Linked DNA regions of Homo sapiens: all the other regions are linked to region 1. Evidence: promoter capture Hi-C in 16 types of primary human blood cells and fetal thymus (Javierre and others, 2016). All regions are on one chromosome and are shown on one strand. The core of a region is centred on a gene start or on the middle of the fragment in contact, and the rest is flanking DNA. Distances in the headings are between cores, read along the strand shown.

Evidence for each region. The method cuts DNA at HindIII sites, captures the fragments that hold promoters and counts their contacts. A CHiCAGO score of 5 or more calls a contact.
Region 2: a contact is called between a fragment that was not itself captured here and the fragment with the promoter of HRG in region 1, in 1 of 17 cell types (activated CD4 T cells). The highest score is 6.9, in activated CD4 T cells.
Region 3: a contact is called between a fragment that was not itself captured here and the fragment with the promoter of HRG in region 1, in 1 of 17 cell types (activated CD4 T cells). The highest score is 5.0, in activated CD4 T cells.
Region 4: a contact is called between a fragment that was not itself captured here and the fragment with the promoter of HRG in region 1, in 6 of 17 cell types (total CD4 T cells, activated CD4 T cells, naive CD8 T cells and 3 more). The highest score is 6.5, in total CD4 T cells.

What each region holds. Positions count from the first base shown.
Region 1 is chr3:186,664,604-186,667,340 of GRCh38, reverse strand. HRG (histidine rich glycoprotein) reads right to left here and starts at 1,327. Exons shown (of 7, transcript NM_000412.5): 1 at 1,127-1,327. The coding sequence starts at 1,309. HRG-AS1 (HRG and FETUB antisense RNA 1) reads left to right here and starts at 1,707. Exons shown (of 3, transcript NR_187317.1): 1 at 1,707-1,762. The HindIII fragment of the contact is 4,199 bases long and covers 1-2,737 here.
Region 2 is chr3:185,992,666-185,995,402 of GRCh38, reverse strand. No RefSeq gene overlaps it. Among named protein-coding and RNA genes, the nearest start is that of TRA2B, 56 kb to the right of the region's middle. The HindIII fragment of the contact is 1,782 bases long and covers 503-2,284 here.
Region 3 is chr3:186,079,718-186,082,454 of GRCh38, reverse strand. It overlaps ETV5 (ETS variant transcription factor 5), which reads left to right. Exons shown (of 13, transcript NM_004454.3): 6 at 1,280-1,409; 7 at 2,351-2,638. It overlaps ETV5-AS1 (ETV5 antisense RNA 1), which reads right to left. Exons shown (of 2, transcript NR_046594.1): 2 at 1,508-1,895. LOC124909470 (a long non-coding RNA gene) reads left to right here and starts at 2,646. Exons shown (of 2, transcript XR_007096205.1): 1 at 2,646-2,737. The HindIII fragment of the contact is 936 bases long and covers 871-1,806 here.
Region 4 is chr3:187,191,464-187,194,200 of GRCh38, reverse strand. No RefSeq gene overlaps it. Among named protein-coding and RNA genes, the nearest start is that of RTP1, 4.7 kb to the left of the region's middle. The HindIII fragment of the contact is 1,787 bases long and covers 447-2,233 here.

The DNA.
Region 1 (2,737 bases), core at 78-2,577:
TGGTAGAATCCCTCTCCCCGAAAGCATCCATAAATCCTAAAATATGAATCTAACCTTCCCCCTGTGTCTTTCTTTGTAGGAGCTGGCCATAAAGACATTCTCTGACCTACTCTGTTTGATAGTAGGTCCTCAGATCCGCATTCCAAAGGGATCCTGTCCCATACTTGGGAGCAAGAAATGCCACACAGAGAGGCCATGAAGAACTCAAACAGAGAGGCCTTGCTGGGTCCTTCTTTCAGTCTATGACTCTTAGATTACAGCCTTTTGTCCCATCACACTTCTGCATTCTGCACAGCCTTTGTGAATTCTAAGTATGCAAGTGGCCAGTTTCTTTGGATATCTGAGTCTTCATTTATGAAGACTCCAGTGTCAGGTAAACCTTGGATTAAATAAATTTGTATGTTTTCTTCTTCTTCTTTTTTTTTTTTGAGATGGAGTCTAGCTTTGTTGCCCAGGCTGGAGTGCAGTGGCATGATCTCGACTCACTGCAACCTCTGCCTCCCGAGTTCAAGCGATTCTTCTGCCTCAACCCCCTGAGTAGCTGGGATTACAGGCGTGCACCACCATGCCCAGCTAGTTTTTGTATTTTTAGTAGAGACAGGGTTTCACCATGTTGGCCAGGCTGGTCTTGAACTCCTGACCTCATGATCCGTCCGCCTTGGCCTCCCAAAGTGCTGGGATTACAGGCGTGAGCCACCGCGCCTGGCCTTGTCTACCAGTTTTATTTCAGGCTCAGTTAGGAGCCTTAGGAGGGTTGAGAAAACTTTTCCTTCTCTCTAGTTTATCCTAGTAACTTACACTGTTTGCCTGTATGTGCCAGTGTATTATTATTTCCTGGAGGCCAAGGCCCATAGCTTATTCTAATGTTTCTCTGGCAGTCCTTAGCATGTAACTGGGCTCAGCATAAATGCTTATATGTACCCACAAATCGAATCATAGTTGCGGGTACACTAATAACAAATATTAGTTTGAAGGAAAAAAGAACAATTTAGAGCAGCCGCAGAAGCCAAACAAAAAACTCTGACCAAAGCCATTCATTGTGCAAAGCAGTAAGCCTAGGGGGTAGAGTCACATTTGCCCCCGTGAGTAATCTCCCAACTCAGCTCTGCCATTGGCAATTCCTCACCACTCTGTCCAAGTGGGCATCAGCAATCCGCAGCAATTGGAAAAGGTAGCCATCCCGTCGCCTTTTATTGATCAGGTCTAGAGCTTTCTCAGCCTCCGGCTCAACAGCACTGCAGTCAGTGGGACTCACGGCACACGAATACTGCAATGTGATCAAAAGCAGTGCTGCAATGAGTGCCTTCATTTTGTTAAACCATCCCTTGCTATGATCTGCCACTGCAGAGAATTTTATACAGACTTTCTGAAACACACGCAATTGATTAAACAAAACCTTGATACATTTTTGTTGTGTAACTGAGGGTGTTCACCTTGACCCTGGGTTCAAATAACCATCAACAAGCTGTAAATGATTAGTGGGTCCTGGGGGCAGAAAGCTGAGAAATGCTGATGAGTGGGTGGAACTGTGATCTGCACAAATCTGGATTTTTCTAGTAGATAGCAGATCTAAAGTACGTCTTTGAATATAAGCAGTGCCTATGTTGGTGTAGGGGGTGGGGCTAGGGGTAATTTTCCTCCATCTGCCTGCCTGTCTCAGCTGGAAATCTCCATCATCAGTCAGTGGACTGATGGATCATGGCACTAAAACTCCTCAGTAGAAGGCAGCTGCATTATCTAAGCGGGGGAACATGTTAAACAGGTACCATTATAAAAGGAATGACTTCAGGTAAAATAGAACAATGAAGAGGCTGTCGTTTTGAAGTCAAATCTGAATTTCTCACCTGGCTCTATTACTTTCTTACTGTGTAATGCTGGGTAAGCAACAAAACTTCTCTGATAGTTCCCTCATTTACGAAATATGGATTGATACCTCTTGGCAGGCTTGTGTGATAATTAAATAAGAAATCAGGCTGGGTGCGGTGGCTCATGCCTGTAATCCCAGCACTTTGGGAGGCCAAGGCAGGCTGATCACAAGGTCAGGAGATTGAGACCAGCCTGGCCAACATGGTGAAACCCTGTCTCTACTAAAAATACAAAAAATTAGCTGGGCATGGTGGCACATGCCTGTAATCGCCGCTACTTGGGAGGCTGAGGCAGGAGAATCACTTGAACCCGGGAGGCGGAGATTGCAGTGAGCTGAGATCGCGCCACTGCACTCCAGCTCGGGCGACAGTGTGAGATTCCATCTAAAAAAGAAAGAAAGAAAAAAAGAAAGCAACCAGTATAATTCTTGGCATAGAGTAGATGCTGAATAAGTGATGCTATTTATTATTAGTGTGCCTGCAAAGAAGTTGGGGACACCTCATGCCACCCCAATTCCCTGCAAAAAGAATTGATTCACGTGGAAGAGGATGGTGGTGAGAGTAAGAGTCAAATAGTTGGATGCCCATCCCACTGTTAGAAGGGATCAGCAGGGGGGGACTGGGCTATGATACAGCTGACCCCCTACCTTCACACTTCAGAAGAAACCCGTATACCTATATGCAACCCTCAGACCAGCAGAGCCAGCAGCATCAGAAGGGACCAGAGGGAATCAGCCTAGGTTCCGTCCTCACTGCCAAGAAACAGCCAGTTAGGCAGCATCTCCATTCCTCCCTGTTCTATCCGCAGTGAGTGTCTGTGAGAGTCTGCAGTCATGTCTCTCAGACTCGGCTTCATGTTAGAATCACCCCAG
Region 2 (2,737 bases), core at 144-2,643, 670 kb after region 1:
GTATGCTAATCACATCACCCTAAGTTACTCTGGAGACATTTAGACCCTTCATAACCTAGACCCTTCCTCTCTCCAGCCCCATCTCTCATCATGATTCATCTCTCAAATAATATTCCAGTGATAACCTTTTTGGAGCTGATCATTTAAAGCAAGCTACATCCCTCCTCTATGCCTTTGTTTACACTGTTCCTTTGCCCAGATTGTCTTTCAACCTGTATCCTATTCCTATCTCTATTTATCCAAAACCCTCTCATCTTTCAAAGCCCAGCTCATATATCATCTTCTCTATCAATATCTCTATCTTTCTTCAACTGATCCCCTTCCCTATACCACCATAATCTTTCAGTTCTGAATGCTAATGGTAGCTTGAGGCTATATTGGTTATACTCACTGCCTTTGTCCATCGTAACTCCTGTACAACTTTAATATTCAGTTCAGTTTTCACCTCCTCCAAGAAACCTACCCTGTTGCTCCCAGGCTTAGCTGAGAACCCCATCAAGCTTCATGCCTTGTGTGTGTCTGTGTGTGTGTGTATCTTCCTCACTAAGCCGTAAGGACCTCCATGGCAGGGACAGAGTCACAATTATGCATATCTCTCCAGAACTTAACATAATGGGGATAACTCTTGGGAGCTTAATTGAGCCAAAAATCCTTGCCACTTGGGACATCTCCTCAGAGATGACATTTGCAGGGAGCAGTTACCTGTGGCCAACAAGGAGATGTTTACCCAGTACCCATTACCCAGTGCACTGCATTATTCTGGAGATTAAAGAAAGCAAGCCTGAGGCCGAGCATGGTGGCTCACGCTTGTAATCCCAGCATTTTGGGAGGCCGAGGCGGGTGGATCACCTGAGGTCAGGAGTTCGAGACCAGCCTGACCAATATGGTGAAACCCCGTCTCTACTAAAAATACAAAAATTAGCCAGGTATGGTGGTGCGCGCCTGTAATCCCAGCTACTCAGGAGGCTGAGGCAGAAGAATTGCTTGAACCAGGGAGGCGGAGGTTACAGTGAGCCGAGATTGCGCCACTGCACTCCAGCCTAGGCGACAGAGCCATACTTTCTCTCAAAAAAAAAAAGAAAAGAAAAAGAAAAGAAAAGAAAGCGAGCCTGGGCAACATGGTGAAACCCCTTCTTTACTAAAAGTAAATAAAATTAGCCAGCCAAGTGTGGTGGTGTGCGCCTGCGGTCCCAGCTACTCCAGAGGCTGAGGTGGGAGGATCGCTTGAGCCTGGGAGGTGGAGGTTGCAGTAAGCTGAGATTGCACCAATGTACTCCAGCCTGGGCAACAGAGAGAGACCCTGTCTCAAAAAAAAATAAAAAATAAAAATAAAGAAAGCAGAACCAGTCAGCCTAACACAGCCAAAGACTGAGTTTACTGCTGTGGTTTCTCCCTGGTATCAAGGGAGATTGTCCCATCTGCTTTCAAAAATTCAAATAAAGTAACAGACACTGAACAAGGCACTCGATGTGGTGTAGAAGACACATAATTATAAATAAGGCATTGTTCTGTCCCCAAGGTCCCCTCGTGGCAGACACAAAAGAGTGCAGTACACAAGTCCCATGGATGAGCTTGAGGCATCAGCTTTGCTTTGAAGAGTTAAGAGAAGCCTCACAGAAGAAGCGATATTTGACCTGGGTCCTCGAGGATGAGGAGGAATCTACTAGGCAAAGATGGGAACTAGGGGAGGACAATCTAGGCTGAGGGACCAGTCCGTGCAAAGGCTCACAGGCTGGCATGGACATGGCACGTCTGGGGGATGGCACATGTCTAGCTCGTAGGTGCCAGAGTCTTCGTGGAAGGTGAAGGAAGAAACGGGGGCAGAAGTGGAGCTTGGGACCTGCTTGTGGGGAGCCTTGAGCATTGTGTTAAAGATGAGGCTCTTATTTGACAAGCACTGGGGAGGCTTGAATGCTTCTAAGCATAAGAATAAAAACTGGCAGCAGTGCTCAGGACAGACAAGAGGGGCAAGAAGGCGTATCAGAGAGTATTGCTATAGTTGGTGAGAATGATAAGGATTAGGACAGAGTGCTGTGCTAGAGGAGAGGACGGCGCATGGCTTGAGAGATGTTGTGGGGGTGGAACCGCAAGGAGCCAAGCCTGTTCGGCATCCCGAATCCTTCCAGCACTACCCACATGGCCCCTATTCCCCCGCTCCCCAGCACATCCTTCTTCCCTCCTTGGCTGTTAAACCCTAAGGCAAGGAGATTCCAAATGCTGACTACATCTTCCTTGGCCCATCTCAGCTTTTGGCAAATAAATTGGTGCCATTCCCCAGAAAGCTTTTCTTGAACTTCATAAAGTTAGCAAAGAGGAGAAGTGTTAACAGTATGATCTGTTGAGTACCAAATTCTAATCCCAGCCCTAACACTAACCTAGCTTTTTCACTCCCTGAAATCCTGCCAAAATCAAAAGAGAAGGTCTGTGCCAGACACAAGTAATTTCAGCTGAACAAGCACTCCGAGGGTCACAGAGTGCTGTTTTGCTCGAAAAATGTTCTGCTGCTTCGGAACTGGCTTTGGGCTGCTGGTGGTGGCTCATGTGGATGACACAGTCAGAGGAGCATGGAAAGTATTTTTCTTTGGTAAACAAATATTTCAGTGTTGATGCTGAATTAAATCAGAAGCTCCAAGAATACAGGTGTCATTCATTTATTAACAGAATAGAAGAAGAGAGAAGGCATGATTCTGGACTGGCTCCTTCTAATGAGAACCAAAACTGATTCATCCCCAGCAGC
Region 3 (2,737 bases), core at 89-2,588, 580 kb after region 1:
CTCCGTCTCAAAAAAAAAAAAAAAAAGAGAAAAGTGATGATTTGTTTAGCTAGTTCTACCTCGTATAATTACTAAGAAGTAACTCCTAAAGATGTTTTAGGAGTAAACATTGAGTCAAAATGAAAATGTTACTGGGTCACCAGACCACTGACTGTAGTTAGCTATTTAATGAGACCTTTGATACAGTGGCCAGTGGCCAGCATAGAAGCTTAACTTGCTCTCCTTCCCCACCTTCCAAGGTAGCTAGACAAGGAGTAACCATTCTAACTCAACTAGAAGGCAGCCCTTATAGCGCAAAATGCATCTTTCCACTTTGGATAAAATGCTGTCTCTGCAACAATTTAGCTCCTAGAGAAGACAGAAAAGGCAAACTCGGTTTTTTGTTCTTTGGGTTTATTTTGGCCACTACATGTAAATCACCTTGATTTGAAAAATTCTTGTTACTCTGCCCTCTCAGAATCCTATGTGGTATATGTAGTTGGCTTCCAAGCCAAAAGCAGTAGCTCCATGTATTTATTCCATGAATTCAGCAAAATTCACTGCACCATCTATGAAAGGACTGGTTACGCAAACCTACCCTTGCTGGTCGGTCACTGAGACAGGCCTGGAGCAGATGTTGTAAGCACAAAGGTAGCCAGGCTTTCTGCTTTCTGTATTCATTAGCCTTTCCTAGGTGGTGGATTGGTCTGTTGTTTTATTCCTTTGCTTTTAAAATTTTTGGAATGCCTCTAAAGTTGAGTATTTCTTGCTGAGAGCTGATATTTAAAGTTACTTGAGAAAGGACTTTTTAAAAATTCTATATTTAATTTGTAAATATGCATCTGAATAAGAAATATATTTGCCACAGCAATTTTAAGCCTTTGATAAGCTTAAATGTGTTGGTAATGTCTACCAACACATTTTTGGTCGTTTTGTCCTTTTTGGAAACAAAATTCTTCATGTCTGCAGCCACTTGCATTTTTGGTGGAGACCCATTACCTGCAAGGTTTTTAAGGATTTTGCAGCTTCTGGAAAGCAAGACCCATGACCAAAGAAATTTGGGAAAAAAGACTTGGCTAATTAAAAGTATCAGATGATGATACTTTTTCTGACTTTGAAGAATTTAATTGGCTTTGGATGGGAGGTTGTGTGTTTAAGCGTTTTGCTTTTTCTGACATGTGACTTGACATGAGTTCCAAGAACAATCAGCTAGTTAGAAGGTTTGCAGAAGGAAGCATTGTGCTCCCTGTTAATCAGCTGTTCTCTCTCTATTCCCCTCTCATCCCTCTTCTGATTTCAGTGGTGCTTCATGCCCCACCTCCAACCAAGATCAAACGGGAGCTGCACAGCCCCTCCTCTGAGCTGTCGTCTTGTAGCCATGAGCAGGCTCTTGGTGCTAACTATGGAGAAAAGTGCCTCTACAACTATTGGTGAGTGGGCAAGAGGAGTCGAAGAAAGGCTGCCCAGAAAGGCTCTGGAAGTAGCCATCAAGCTGAATGTTCCTTCCCAGTGTTACTTACCCAGCAGACCCTGTGGTAAAACATATCCTTCTTTCATGGCAGTGTCATCCTCCGGGTGTAGTCCAGTCCCCTTGGGATCATTGTACTGCACACAAAAGAAAACCATTAAAAACCTTGTGGCTCTACAGAGCACTAAGTTCATAGGGTACCCAGTCCTTCTAGGGAAAGAGTCTCAATCCTGGGATACTTGATCTGTGGCTTTGAGGCAGGTAATATATACTTCTTCATGTCTATCATATGTTAATGTGAACTTTAAGCACCAGAGAAGTAATCTCCAAATCAGAATATATGAAAAAGTCTTGAAGCTTGTGCCCTTTACTTAAGAATATCCAGGCCCCAGGAATGAAGCTTTAATTTTAAATCATTCTTTGCTCTAGAAGATAAACATAGATTTGCCTGAAAGGGGGAGGAGAAGAGTTGTTAATTCAAATGATGTCACAGCACAAACAGACCTTCAACACATATTCTGACTAATTCCTGGGAACCCTGGAAATAGTTGGGAGAGGGGACCAGAGAACACCTGGCAAACATACATTCTCCCCTCACCCACCCACCCTACACAGGCATACACGGAGAATTCTTTTAGAAGGAGGGAAAAAGGAAACCGGAAGCAGAGGCTAAAATTATCCTTGAGAAAAATCACTAGAAGTGTTAAACAAGTCCCTGTGACGCAGTGTGTTTGTCACTTTTCAGAGGTACAAATATCCCCTCGGGGCTACGAGCGATTTAACTATGTTAATGCTGTTATTTCCTGGCAACAATGGGCTGCAAACTAGCTTTCTGCTGGACCTGGTAACCATGCTAATGGCTTCATTTCAGCTTAATGGTTCCTTCTCTTTTTCTGTTTACAGTGCCTATGATAGGAAGCCTCCCTCTGGGTTCAAGCCATTAACCCCTCCTACAACCCCCCTCTCACCCACCCATCAGAATCCCCTATTTCCCCCACCTCAGGCAACTCTGCCCACCTCAGGGCATGCCCCTGCAGCTGGCCCAGTTCAAGGTGTGGGCCCCGCCCCCGCCCCCCATTCGCTTCCAGAGCCTGGACCACAGCAGCAAACATTTGCGGTCCCCCGACCACCACATCAGCCCCTGCAGATGCCAAAGATGATGCCTGAAAACCAGTATCCATCAGAACAGAGGTGGGTGTTGATCTGGGCTTCTTCCTTAATTGTCTCCCTCACTCCTATCCTTTCTCACTGGGAGAGGGGAAGCAGTTTGTCTTATTTACCAGGTTCCTA
Region 4 (2,737 bases), core at 91-2,590, 530 kb before region 1:
CATGCGCCATCTCACCTGGCCGGCATTGGGAAAAACTCTTAAGTTCTTCAGGACCCTTCATTAAACTTTCAGTCCTTCAAGTCAGTATTCTTACCTCTGAATTAAGGCAACCAACACCTAAATAAGTAAACTCGTTTAACAAACCTCACAGATATGATGGGAACTGCCTCAGGTGGGAGTTACTGGCCAAAATGAGAATGGGGGCTGTGGACCTTCCCAGAAAATACGTGAAGCTGAGAGGAGCTTATAACAAACAGTGCTACCCAGAACAAATCCTCTAGAAGTATTTTGCAGGTGTTGCTACAATAAACACTATGATGACAGAAGACAGAAAGTAAGAATCACCAGAGGGGTGTGTGTGTGTGTGTGTGTGAGTGTGTGTGTGTGTGTAACCAGCTGATGCAATCCCCATTGGCACAAATTAAGTTTTATTTAGAACCCAAGCTTGCTGTGCAGAGGCCAATATAATGCATCCTTCTGGATAGCAGAGTATTTTCTCTAATAAAAATTTCTATCAAGACAGAAAAAAATACTGTGGTATTGCAACTTGCTCTCTATCAAATGACCTCTAACACCATGGAATCTACAATTTAGAGAAGGCCAATTCAGACATCTCTAAAGCTGTTGGCCTCACCCTGGTCAATTTCTTAAAGTTTGTGATCATGTTTTAAGTGGATAAAATGCTTTAAATTAAGTTCCCAACTAGAAAATAGAGCAATGAAAAGAAAAAACAAGCCTCTAATTTTTTTTCTTGAAATGATGCACTCATGAAAAATTCTCAACTATGCACAATTTTCTATCCCTAAATGGCATTTGAGAAGAAGGAGGGGTGTGTTTTAGGGCTGGACCCATGACTGGAAGTTTCTACTGGTACCCTGTACCAAAGATCTAAATGTGCCTCACAGTCCCAAAACAAAGACTCTTTCCTTCCAGAATGCCCCAACATTGCTGGACCAGAACAGTAAGCCCCTCCATCTGTTGATTTAATGATATTAAGAGCCCATGTAGTAGTCTCAACTTTAAAGGAATTTTTAATTTTCTTCTCTAATGGCAACATTTTTTTTCCTTGGGTACTAAGATTTCTAAAATAGCAGAGATCAAAGTTATGGGTACAGAAAGAAAAGGGAAAAAAAACTAGTTTACCATTAGGGCTAATTTTGAGAAAGCCAGTCCATTCTACCCTTTAATTCTTGGAACTAAGCACTATATCATCATGGTTGCTAATTCTGAGCATGTACCACATCCTGGAGAACATTATCCTAGCCCTGCAAGGTCCTGTCCCCCAGCTGATTCTATAACTGAGTCTTCCAAAGACCACCACATTGTTCAATCAGGCCAACTACTTCAGGATTATGGGTGATATAGTTAAGACTAATGAATTTCATGAGTGTGAGCTCATTGCCAGATTTCCTTTACTTTGAAATGAGTTGCCAGTCAGAAGCAATGCTATATGGAATATCACAATGGTATATAAGGAATTCTCTAAATCCACTGCTAAGTGCCTGATATGGTTTGGATTTGTGTCCCCACCCAAATCTCATGTTGAATTGTAATCCCCAATGTTGGAAGAGGGTCCTGGTGGGAGGTGATTGGATTATAGTGGTGGATTTCCCCCTTGCTCTTCTGGTGATAGTGAGTGAGTTCTCATGAGATCTGGTTGTTTAAATGAGTGTAGCACCTCCCCCTTCGCTCTCTCTTCCTCCTGCTTCAGCCACGTAAGACAAGCCTGCTTTCCTTCACCTTCCGTCATGATTGTAAGTTTCCTAAGGCCTCCTCAGCTATGCTACCTGTACAGCCTATGGAACCCTGAGCCAATTAAACCTCTTTTCTTTATATTAATAAATTACCCAGTCTCAGGTATTTCTTTTTAGCAGTGCAAGAATGGACTAATACAATGCCCAAATTCCAAAAACAGAGAGAGACCAACACTGAACAATTGATTGGGCCATGATTCCATGGGAAACAACCAACGACCTGGTGGCAAGTTGATTACACTGGACCATTTCCATCAAGGAAGGGATAGACCTTTGTTTTCACTGGAAGAAACAATTACCGTGAATATGGACTTCCCTTCCTCTCCACAATGCCTCTGCCATTTGTGAACTTTCATAATGCCTTATTCACCATTATGGTATTTCTCCACTTGGGTCTTTCCTTTTAGCTGCTCAGGCTTCTTCACTACATGGTAGTTTGTTTCCAAGAAGATTCATTCTAGGAAGAATAAATGGAAGCTTCCAGTCCTCCTTAAGGCTAGAGTCAGAAGTCCCATAACATCACTCCTGTCATATTCTGTTGATGAAAGCAATCACAGGGCCAGCCCGATATAGGGGAATGGGAAATAAACTTCAACTCTTGATGGGGAAATTGCCTGTGCCTATAGGAAGGGAAGGAATTGGTGGCAGCCATCTTTGGAGACTTTCTACCACAGTACCTGATTATTTTTCTTCATCCTTCAAAGAGCTTAGTGCCTTGAGAACACGATGTCCAATTCTATGATGTAGGTAGAGGTTGACATTATTTTGCAAAAAAAAAAAAAAAAAAAAGCAAACTAAGGATCAAAAAGGCAAAGTAGCCAAAGAGTAAACTAATCCAGCAAGTCCAATCCCAAAACATAGCCAGATAGGAACAGTAGGGCTGCTCCCTTTGGGTCAAAGCAAAGGAAAGCATTACAGGTACCCAGCCTGCCAGTACCACCCACCTCTGCATGCCCAGTCATGATTTATAAGAACCTCTTCCT